3 separate regions of the Homo sapiens genome follow, and regions 1 and 3 are each linked to region 2. Evidence: promoter capture Hi-C in human tissues and cell types (Jung and others, 2019). All regions are on one chromosome and are shown on one strand. Each heading gives the region's core, a stretch centred on a gene start or on the middle of the fragment in contact. The rest is flanking DNA. Distances are from core to core; before and after follow the strand shown.

Evidence for each region. Contacts are between HindIII fragments. The study calls those that stand out against the background at their distance.
Region 1: the fragment with the promoter of USP6 here is called in contact with a fragment that was not itself captured in region 2 in 2 of the 25 tissues and cell types used here (H1 embryonic stem cells and lymphoblastoid cells).
Region 3: the fragment with the promoter of ZFP3 here is called in contact with a fragment that was not itself captured in region 2 in 6 of the 25 tissues and cell types used here (dorsolateral prefrontal cortex, lymphoblastoid cells, mesendoderm cells and 3 more).

Annotation. Positions count from the first base shown.
Region 1 is chr17:5,113,801-5,117,390 of GRCh38, reverse strand. It overlaps USP6 (ubiquitin specific peptidase 6), which reads right to left and starts at 1,359. Exons shown (of 38, transcript NM_001304284.2): 1 at 651-1,359. ZNF232-AS1 (ZNF232 antisense RNA 1) reads right to left here. Exons shown (of 3, transcript NR_135658.1): 3 at 3,009-3,233. It also overlaps a transcript of ZNF232 not described here. The HindIII fragment of the contact is 4,107 bases long and covers 674-3,590 here.
Region 2 is chr17:5,008,632-5,012,342 of GRCh38, reverse strand. All of the region lies in intron 16 of KIF1C (kinesin family member 1C), which reads right to left. Among named protein-coding and RNA genes, the nearest start is that of KIF1C-AS1, 9.6 kb to the left of the region's middle. RefSeq lists a silencer at 47-106. The HindIII fragment of the contact is 9,299 bases long and covers 1-3,711 here.
Region 3 is chr17:5,076,267-5,079,725 of GRCh38, reverse strand. It overlaps ZFP3 (ZFP3 zinc finger protein), which reads right to left and starts at 1,259. Exons shown (of 2, transcript NM_153018.3): 1 at 1,151-1,259. ZFP3-DT (ZFP3 divergent transcript) reads left to right here and starts at 1,613. Exons shown (of 2, transcript NR_186458.1): 1 at 1,613-1,839. RefSeq lists enhancers at 1,483-1,552, 920-1,791. The HindIII fragment of the contact is 17,416 bases long and covers 1-3,459 here.

The DNA of each region.
Region 1 (3,590 bases), core at 110-2,609, 110 kb before region 2:
GTGTGTGCCTCCACACCCGGCTAATTTTTGTATTTTTTGTAGAGAGGGGGTTTCACCATGTTGGTCAGGCTGGTCTCAAACTCCTGACCTCATGATCCACCCGCCTCGGCCTCCCAAAGTGCTGGGATTAGAGGCTTGAGCCCCCTCGCCCAGGCTTATCGAGCTTTTAATATGTGTTAAGCAGCGGGTGCTACAAAGCAGGGTGAGCATAAATGGACAAGTCTCTGGCCTGATGGAACTTATAATTGTAGAAGAGAAACTAATTAGAATCATTAATAAAGTTGCAACCATAAGTGCCAAAAAGGAGAGGCATATGATACTACAGTGGGGAGTCTCACCTAGCTGGGGAAGGCTTTCTGCAAAGTACTTACCTTTCCTTCCTATTATTTACCCATGAACTCTCTGCAGTTCCCCAAGAATGTAGGCACCGCCCTCTTGCCCTGTGGCCTTTCCACGAGCTGTTCCCTCTGTGAAGATTGCTCCCTCCGTACCTAGCTCCATCACTTTTCAGTACTTGCTATGTGTTGGGTACCGTGATAAGCACTTACCATCAATTTTCTCTTGTATTTACCTCAGTGAGTGCAACTGTTAACCCTGTTTTATACATAAGAAACTACGCTCTAGAAAGGCAAATTTGCCCAAAGACTCACAACTAGTAAGTGAAGAAACGAATTCAAATTCCGGTCGGCCCGACTCGAAAGCGGTCTTGGCGGTACAGTCTTGGGTCTCCCAGTTCCTTCCTGTTCAGGCCTCACGTATCTGCCCGCCTTTCCTGACAGACCCCTGGTGAGGGTCTAGTGCCTCCACGGGCCACGGCCATCGTAAGGCAGCAACTGTAACTTGTCGCCCGCCCCACTAGGCTGAGCTCTTCCCGGACAGGCACTGGCCTTTTCCCTTTCGTCGGCTCAGTGACTCCAGGTAGACGCCCCTCAGACACCACACGAGACGGCGGCTCACATGGGCCAGAAGTGTTTCCCCTCTCCCCCAGCGGCTTGTCTAGGAAAACATGAGGACTCGGTTCGACTCGATGGTGCGGGCCTAAGCCCCGGGAAGCCGGGAGTGGTGAGGCGGGCCGCCGGGAGCGGGGCCGGGAGTGGTGAGGGGGGCCGCCCGGAGCGGGGCCGGGAGTGGCGTCGAGCAGAGAGCCCGCAGGCGGGAAGTCCTCTCAATGAGCGTCTCGAGCGCTGCCCGCGGCCCCTCCTGACTGCTAGTTGGAGCGGGGACAGCATGGGCGCGGCCGCCAAGGTAGCGTCGAGTGAGGGGAAGACTGATGGGCGCCTGGAGACGAGCTCCCACAGCGGCCACGCATTTGGAGCTGGGCGTCGGGGCCCGCCCGTCCCGCCGCGCCGCTAGCTGTCCCCTCTGCCTGGCCTCCGTGCCTTGCGCCCCTTTGTGCCGTCCAGCCCTACAGCTTTGAGGCCCTTTCGGCGCACGCACCCCGCCCCGATCCCCCGGCGCTATCCCAGCCTTGACGGCCGGGGAGGCTTTCCCTAGCCCGGCGCCTCGAGGACCGCCTCAGTGGCCAAAGGCGGCGCGGGGTGCGCCCGGGCTGTGTCCCCGGGAGGCTGGACCGCCAGTCCGCGCATGAGGCCATCTGTGAGGCACGAGTGCAGGAGAGTGAAGGAGACCGGGGCGTGCTGAGTAGGGACCTCCCTCAGTGACTGGAAGGTTATTCATGGGGCCTTCTGACACTCTAAAAACGAAATTTCTCCGGGGTTTGATGAGTATCAGGGTGGTGGCTTCTTGAGTTTTGAGCAGGCATCACAAATCAATCCCTCTGGAATACAGAACTGCCTCTGTTCCGTTTTGGGTTTTGTGTGTGTGTGTGTGTGTGTTTTTGGAGACGGAGTCTTGCTCTGTTGCCCAAGCCGGAGTGCAGTGGCGCCATCTCGGCTCACTGTAACCTCCGCCTCCCGGGTTAAAGCTGTTGTCCCGCCTCAGCCTCCCGAGTAGCTGGGATTACAGGCGCCCCCCACCACGCCAGGCTAATTTTGTATTTTTAGTAGAGAGAGGGTTTCACCATGTTGGCCAGGCTGGTCTTGAACTCCTGACCTCAGGTGATCCACTGGCCTCGGCCTCGCAAAGTGCTGGAATTACAGGCACGACCCACCACATCCGGCCCTCTGTTCCTTGTTTCGAAATAACTCAATTAAAAGTCAGAGGCTCACTGGCCACATCTCCTTCCACCCACCCACCGCCCCACCCCCCAAAAGATGCCTCTAGCAAATAAAATGAGACGTCCTGATGCCTTCCTGGCTCGTTCCAGAATTTTTAGCTTTGACTTTTGACGTGGGGTCCTTCTACCTAAAGTCCCCGCCGTCACATCAGCCCCCAGTTTTCCTCTGTCTTAGCTCGGGCTGCCGTAACAAAATACCATAGACTGGATGCCAGACAACAGAAATTTATTTTCTCAGTTTTGGAGGCTGCAAGGCTGTGACCAGGGCCCAACATGGTCAGGTTCTGGTGAGAGCTCCCTGGCTGCCTTCTCACAGGGTCCTCACATGGCAGAGAGAGAGGGACCCAAAGCCCTCTGGTGTCTTTTTTGTTTGTTTGTTATTTTTTGGGACGGAGTCTCACACTGCTGCCAGGCTGGAGTGCAGTGGCCCGATCTCGGCTCACTGCAACCTCCACCTCCCAGGTTCAAGTAATTCTCCAGCCCCAGCCTCCCAATTAGCTGGGATTACAGGCACCCACCACCACACCCGGCTAATTTTTGTATTTTTAGTAGAGAGGGGCTTTCACCATGCTGGCCAGGCTGGTCTCGAACTCCTGAGCCCAGCTGATCCACCCGCCTCGGTTTCCCAAAGTGCTGGGATTACAGGCGTGAGCCACTGCGCCTGGCCAGAACTCAGTCCTTACAGAACATCAGAGAATCCATACAAGGTGAGAGAGAGGCCTTATAAATGCATTGGGTGTGGGAAAGATTTGAAGGGGAGCTCACAACTTATTCAGCATCAAAGAATTCACAGTGGAAAGAAACTTTGTGAATGCAATGAATGTTCAAAGACTTGTAATCAGAGCTCACACTTTATTCGACATCATAGAATTCATAGTGGAGAAAAGCCCTATGAATGTGACAAGCATGGGAAAGCCTTCAGATGGAGCTCAGACCTTGTGAGGCATCTGGAAATTCATATTGGAGATAAAGTTTTGGAATGTAGCGAGCGTGGAAGAATTTTCAATCAGAGCTCAGGTCTAATGCAGCACCAAAGAAACCATACAGAATCATAACCCTAGGAAGACAGTAATGATAAAGATGTCAGTATGTACATATAGGAAGAGAGAAGGAGAGTTTGTTTTTGTCCTAACTATTTGGAAAATTGTAAGCTTCCTAAGAGCAATTTTCATCTGATTCAGTGTATAGTACTTAGTCTCAGGTCATGTGCAGATATGTCCTTCCCAAATGCTTACCACAAGATAAATCAGAAATCTTGACTGGAATAAGCTTCTAGTTCCTTTGCTTTATCATGAGAGGTTCCACACCACAGGAAAATCTTGTAAATGGTGGAAGCTGCATAAAGCACCATCATCATCACAAAATGGTGTCCTTGTGTGTCCTGTTTAGCAGCACCGAGAATCTAATAGCTTTC
Region 2 (3,711 bases), core at 597-3,096:
TCACGTTCCTCCCAGTCTGTCTGAAATGCAACTTCCTCCGGGAAGTTTTCCTAAGCCTTCCATCAGAACACAAGACCCCTGCCTCTGCTGCAGAAGGACTGACTGTGGCCTTTCTACCTCACCCTGGTGAAGCGCTAGGCGGGGTACAGAGATGAGTCAAGCCCAGGCACTGCTGTCCAGTCAGTCAGGAAATGAGAGTCAGCTAGGGGAGGTGAGGCTTGGCGTGGAAACACCATTACAAGTGGGAAACGGATGCCTCATGGAGGAGTTTCTGATTGTCTCATGCCCTTGTTTAAGTTCGTTTATTCATTCATTTGTTCCCAGGGGGTTGAGTGCCACTGTGTTCTGGGAGGGACTCACATGCAAAGAGGAACAAAGTGAAGAACTATGGGATTTCAAGGGGATCAGGAGGACTTAATGGAAGGGTAACATGGGAGCCAGCCTTTGAGGACAAGGAGGGCGTGGACATGCACAAGAGCGCTCCGGGTGAAAGCAGCCTGGACAGAAGCATGGAGGCAGAAAGCACAGGGTACAGAAGGGAAACAGCACGGAGTCGAACCTCTATTTCTCTGGGAGCCACTTAACACTCAGAGCCCAAAGCTGTGTCCCCCAGAGGTGTCTGTGTATCTTGTGCATCCGCCCTTCACCCAAGTGCTCCAAGGATCACTCCTGCGACACTTCTCCTGAGGGACTCCCATGCCCCTCCCTACACTGCAGTGTCAGGCCTGCTCTGGGACTGGCAAACGCTGATGGGCTCCGGAAGCAGAAAGCAATCTATCCCTGGGGAGAGGGAACACGATTTGAGGCGGTGCTTTTCAACTTTTTCTTCAGCCCTATAACTCTTTGTTCAAAATGAAACCTTCTCTAGAAGCCTAGGACATCAAGCAGATAAGCAAGAAGCTGCTCAGGCCCAGGCTGGGGGTGAGAGCCCCAGGGTCTGGTCCTGTCCCTATCCTCAGCCCCTGAGAAGGCAGCTCAGAACCAGGTTTGAACACCACTGATTTAAGCAATCCTTAGCCCTGGTGGTGGGGGTCTTAGCAAGAGGAGGCTCCCTCCAAGACAAACTGTAGTTTTTTCCTCTAAGACCCAACTATTCCCTGTTGGAGCTACTCACACCAAACCCATTTCCCCATGAGTCTAACAGTTCTCTCTTCTGGCTTTAGACCACATGGCTTTTAAACATGAGAAGAGTTCATCCTCACCACCTTGAGAAAAATGTAAAAGTGAACTACCTTAAGACACCTTCTCACCAATCACACAGGCAAAGAGAAAAGTCTTACTAAGCCAGAATGTGGGAAAGGGCGAGGGGAAATGGGCTCTCTTGTATGTTACCCTTGGGAGTATAAATTGGTATGGTTCAAAAAATTAGCCAGGAGTGGTGGTGGGCGCCTGTAGTCCCAGCTACTTGGGAGGCTGAGGCAGGAGAATGGCGTGAACCCGGGAGGCGGAGCTTGCAGTGGGCCGAGATTGCACCACTGCACTCCAGCCTGGGCAACACAGCAAGACTCCATCTCAAAAAAGTAAAATAAATTGGTATGGTTATAATCTTCAGAGGGCACTTTGGCAATATAGATTAAAAAAAAAATTTTTTTTTTTGAGACGGAGTCTCGCTCTGTCACCTGGGCTGGAGTGCAGTGGCATGATCTCGGCTCACTGCAAGCTCCGCCTCCCGGGTTCACGCCATTCTCCTGCCTCAGCCTCCCAAGTAGCTGGGACTACAGGTGCCCGCCACCACGCCCGGCTAATTTTTTCTATTTTAGTAGAGATGGGGTTTCACCTTGTTAGCCAGGATGGTCTCGATCTCCTGACCTCGTGATCCGCCCGCCTCGGCCTCCCAAAGTGCTGGGATTACAGGCGTGAGCCACCGCACCCGGCCTAGATTAAAATTTTACATGGCTACCATTTGACCCAAAATCTCCATTTCTAGGAATCTGCTCTACAGATAACACCCATTTGTAAGACTATGCATTGTAGCCTTTTTTTGTAGTATCAAGGAATGGGAAACAATCTGAATGTCCATCAGTGGGAAGCTGGTTAAATACATTATCCTACATCTACACAATAGAATACCCTGACACCGTGAAAAAAATAAAGGAAGCTTTAAAATAAGGTATGCAGGCCAAGCACAGTAGCTCACACCTGTAATACCAGCACTTCAGGAGGCCAAGGCCAGTGCATCATTTGAGGCCAGGAGTTTGAGACCAGCCTGGCCAACATGGCGAAACCCTGTCTCTACTAAAATACAAAAATTAGCCCGGCGTGGTGGTGGGTGCCTGTAATCCCAGCTACTTGGGAGGCTGAGGCATGAGAATCACTTGAACCTGGGAGGCAGAGTTTGCACTGAGCTGAGATTGTGCCACTGCACTCCAGCCTGGGCGACAGAGTGTGACTCTTGTCTCAAAATAAATAAATAAAATAGATATGCAACTACAACTATTAGAGAGGCCGTGAATGTGAGTAAATGTGTATAGTTCTATATAACATATGCCTGTACATGTGTTATAACATCTCCTAGACAGCATCTCTAGGAGAACATTTTTTCTTTTTTTTTTTTTTGAGACAGAGTCTTGTCTGTCACCCAGGCTGGAGTGCAGTGGTGCGATCTCAGCTCACTGCAACCTCTGCCTCCCGGGTTCATGTCATTCTACTGCCTCAGCCTCCCTAGTAGCTGGGACTACAGGCGCCCGCCAGCACACGTGGCTAATTTTTTGTATTTGTAGTAGAGACGGGGTTTCACTGTGTTAGCCAGGATGGTCTCAATCTCCTGACCTCGTGATCCACCCGCCTTGGCCTCCCAAAGTGCTAGGATTACAGGTGTGAGCCACCAGGCCCGACCCAAGGAGAATATAGTAAGAACCCATAATGGGCCTGGCACGGTGGCTCACACCTGTAACCCCAGCACTTTGGGACTCCGAAGTGGGTGGATCACGAGGTCAGAAGTTCAAGACCACTCCGGCCAACATAGTGAACCCCATCTCTACTAAAAATACAAAATATTAGCCGGGTGTGATGGTGTGCGCCTGTAATCCCAGCTACTTGGGAGGCTGAGGCAGAAGAATCGTATGAACCCAGGAGGCGGAGGTTGCAGTCAGCCAAGATTGCACCGTTGCACTCCAGCCCGGGTGACAGTACAAGACCCCGTCTCAAAAAAAAAAAGAACTCATAATGAAGGCTGCCTCTGAGGGGAAACTTAAGGGTGGGAAGGATGGAGAGTTACTTTTTTTTTTTTTCTATAACAAAATGCTGTAAATTGGAGACTTTTCACTGTACACACCTTTTAGAACTATTAGAATGTTCTCTCTGGTGTGTATTACCTTTATAAGAACAATTAAAACAAGAACCCCCTCCTTTGGTCCCCAGGCTTTGGCAGGTGGCATCTCTGCAAGCTCTCCAAGGAAGAAACCTCCACCCCACCAGTCTCCCCAGTCCTTTCTGCTTTTCCTCCATCCTTGCAACCGTGGTGGAAGCGGCCCAGCTCCAGGTATACAAAGGTGGCTGGAAGCCATGCTGAGCGCATCCGTAGCCCCTCTTTCCACCTAGGTGTGGCTGGGTCCCAGAAGAGTCTGGATCCCTCAGAAGGACCCCAAAGCCCCAGGGTACCCAGCCCCAGACAAGACCCCAGACACGCAGCCTGGCCTACCGCCCACAGCTCTTTCACTCCCTCAATGTGGCTTGGGCCAGGCAAGGCAAAACCCCTCTCCTCTTTTCAGA
Region 3 (3,459 bases), core at 10-2,509, 68 kb before region 2:
CTCTAAGGCAGACAGCTACTCCTTCACCTTGTAGCAGCTACCCCACTGCATTATTAATTTTTCATACCTATTTTCTTCTCTAGACCATAAGCAAGGATGCTGTTCCATTCATCCTGGTATTCTGAGTACCTAGCATATTTCAGATACCTGGTAAATGTTAAGTGAATTTGTGTAACTGTCTTATATATATAATGAATCTGCAATACCTCCCTTTTTTCTGAGACAGGGTCTTGGCTCTATTGCCCAGACTCACTGCAGCTTCAACTTCCCAGGCTCAAGAAAATCCTCCCACCTCAGCCTCCCAAGTAGCTGGGACTACAAGCATGCGCCACCACACCCAACTACCCAACTAATTTCTTTGTTTTTTGTACAGATGGTGTCTCACTATGTTGCCCAGGCTGGTCTTGAACTCCTGTGCTCAAGTGATCCTCCCGCCTAGGCCTCCCAAAATGCTGGGATTACAGGCATGAGCCACTGCACCCAGCCTCTGTAATACTCTTGATGGCTAACTGGATATTTCATTCATCATTATATCTAAAGAGCCTAGGATAGTGTCTGACACATAGCTGGTGTCGATAACTGTTTGTAAAAATAAGTTCCTTTTCCCAATCTGGGTGATATTTAATTTATGGCACTGTTAACCTCCTTTCCTCTCTTCTCCCTCTGACCCACAATAGGGCTCTATCTTTGCAGCTCAAACCTGTCTCCTTTTCACGACCACCCCTCATAAGCCAATATCTTGTCTGGCAGCACAGGGCACAATCTGCCACTAGGGCGTTAAGTTTGTGACACTGCCCGCCATTTCGTCCTAGCGGTTTACTTGGGGGTGGAATGTCTGAGAAAACCACAGCTCCCACGGGTCCCCACCTCGGTACAGAAGGGAGTGTCCCTGCTTCTCCCACCCCCACGGCTGACAGGCACCAAACCAGAGCTGGGACTGTCCCTGGCGGTGTCCAGGCCCCACCCTCTCTGTGTGCAGGTGGAAATGAAGGCCTGGGGGCGGGGGGAATGGAGGGAGGCATAAACTTCAAGGTCACACAGCGAACCCCGGTCAGAACGGGCCTAAACGTAGGGTTTCCGCTCGGCTCTCTAGGGAGCTGGGAGCCCAGCCCCCGCCTACCCCCACAGCCGCGACGGAATGAGGTCTCACCGCAGGCCGCTACTGCCCCGCGCTCGCTCACTCCGCTGAGGCTCCGCGCTGCTGGGCCGCTCGCACAGAGCCCGCAGCTGTTGTCCCGGTGTCACTGGCGACGGGCATCGGCCACTTCCGGTACCCGGGCGGCACTCCAGCCAATCGGCGCGCGTCGCACTCCGCTGGAGGAACAGGTGGTCAGCGCACCGACGCCCCCTTGCCTTTTCCGGCTTGCTTTTCGCCGGTTCTAGCCCTAGCCCAAGTTCCACGTCGCCGCCGCCTGCCGAGCCGGCTCCCTGGAACAGCAAAGTGCACCCGTCGATGCCCACTTCAGCCCCGGAATCATTGACGACCTGAGTCCTCCGGGTTTCCTAGAACGGCTCCGGGGATGAACTTCCGCTCCGCGATCTGCCGCTCTGCGCCCTCGTGTCGCTCCCCAAGCATTGCTCTAGGCTCAAGAACTCGAGAATCCGCTTCGCATTCCCGCGGGGACCGTTTGCGCGACCCTTTTAACTCTCCCAACCCGCATCGTTCTTATCCCATCCTTCCTTTCCACAGACTCCGTGGGTCTGATAAGCACAGGGCTGCAGATCCTGGGAACAGGTCTCTCCTCGGCGGGAGCGAAGGGAGACATGCTTTGAGTTCCGGAAGGGCTTGCAGGAGTGACGTTTGGCCTGAAATCTCAAGATTGCGTGGGAATTACCAAGGTTAAGAGTAAAGGCCTAGGTTAAGCTGCCGAGGCCACGGAAACAGCATTCTGCAGCTAGCCTTCCTGGGTTCCCTGAGCAAGCTTGGCCCATTCTCACCTCAGAACCTTTCCTTGTTACTTCCTCTGTAATTTTGCACAGCCAGCTTGTTTTCTTGTTTGTTTGTTTTTTGAGATGGAGTTTCGCTCTTGTTGTCCAGGCTGGAGTGCGATGGCGCCATCTCCGCTCACCGCAACCTCCGCCTCCCGGATTCAAGCGATTCTCCTACTTCAGCCTCCCCGAGTAACTGGGATTACAAGCATGTGCCACCACGCCCGGCTAATTTTGTATTTTAGGTAGAGACGGGTTTTCTCCATTTTGGTCAGGCTGGTCTCGAACTCCCGACCTCAGGTGATCCGGCCGCCTCGGCCTCCCAAAGTGCTGGGATTACAGACATGAGCCACCGCGCCCGGCCTCCAGCTTGTTTTTGTTTGTTTTTTGAGGCGGAGTTTCGCTCTTGTCGCCAAGGCTGGAGTGCAATGGCACGATCTCTGCTCACTGCAACCTCCACCTCCCGGGTTCAAGCGATTCTCCAGCCTCAGCCTCCAGAGTAGCTGGGATTACAAGTGCCAGCCACCACGCCCGGCTAATTTTTGTATTTTTAGTAGAGACGGGGTTTCACCATGTTGGTCAGGCTGGTCTCGAACTTCTGACCTTAGGTCAGACCTTAGGCCCACCTTGGCCTCCCAAAGTGCTGGGATTACAGGCGTGAGCTACCGCGTCCAGCCAGCCAGTTTGTTTTTAGGTGTCAGTTCCAAGATCACCACATTGAAGACTTTCATTCTATATAATGTTGCCTCAGAGTACACTATCCTTCCCAAATATCAGTTACAAAGGACTATGATTAGCCCTGTTTGGGTCTGGTGCTCAACCATGGACCAATCAAGGGGGAAAGGACCGTGTGATTTACCAAGCCTGGTCACCTGCCTTCCCGCAAGGATGACGGCGGGCTTCTGTGTTTGCCTCACCATAATCCTATGAAATAGGGAAAGGAGTGACCACCCTTAGAAGGGAATATTGTGTTTGTATGCCACACACAATCTAGCAGAAAGAAAACTTTCTCTTGAATTCATCATTGCCATTAGGCCCTAGACTCTAGGGTCCATCACTTTAGCCACTCTGGTACTAAAATCCTTAACTCCCTTGCCCTACTGTCTGCAACTGCATGGGAAGTTTGTTAACTCTGATTCAATCAGAATATCTATTTTCCGGCCGGGCGTGGTGGCTCATGCATGTGATCCCAGTACTTTGGGAGGCTGAGGCAGACAGATCACAAGGTCAGGAGTTCGAAACCAGCCTGGCCAAAATGGTGAAACCCATCTCTATTAAAAGTACAAAAATTAGGGCCAGGTGCGGTGGCTCACACCTGTAATCCCAGCACTTTGGGAGGCGAAGGCGGGAGGATCACAAGGTCAGGAGTTCGAGACCAGCCTGGCCAATATGGTGAAACCCTGTCTCTACTAAAAATACAAAAATTAGCCAGGCATGGTGGTGCATGCCTGTAGTCCCAGCTACTCGAGAGGCTGAGGCAGAAGAATCACCTGAACCTGGGAGGCGGAGGTTACAGTGAGCTGAGATCAC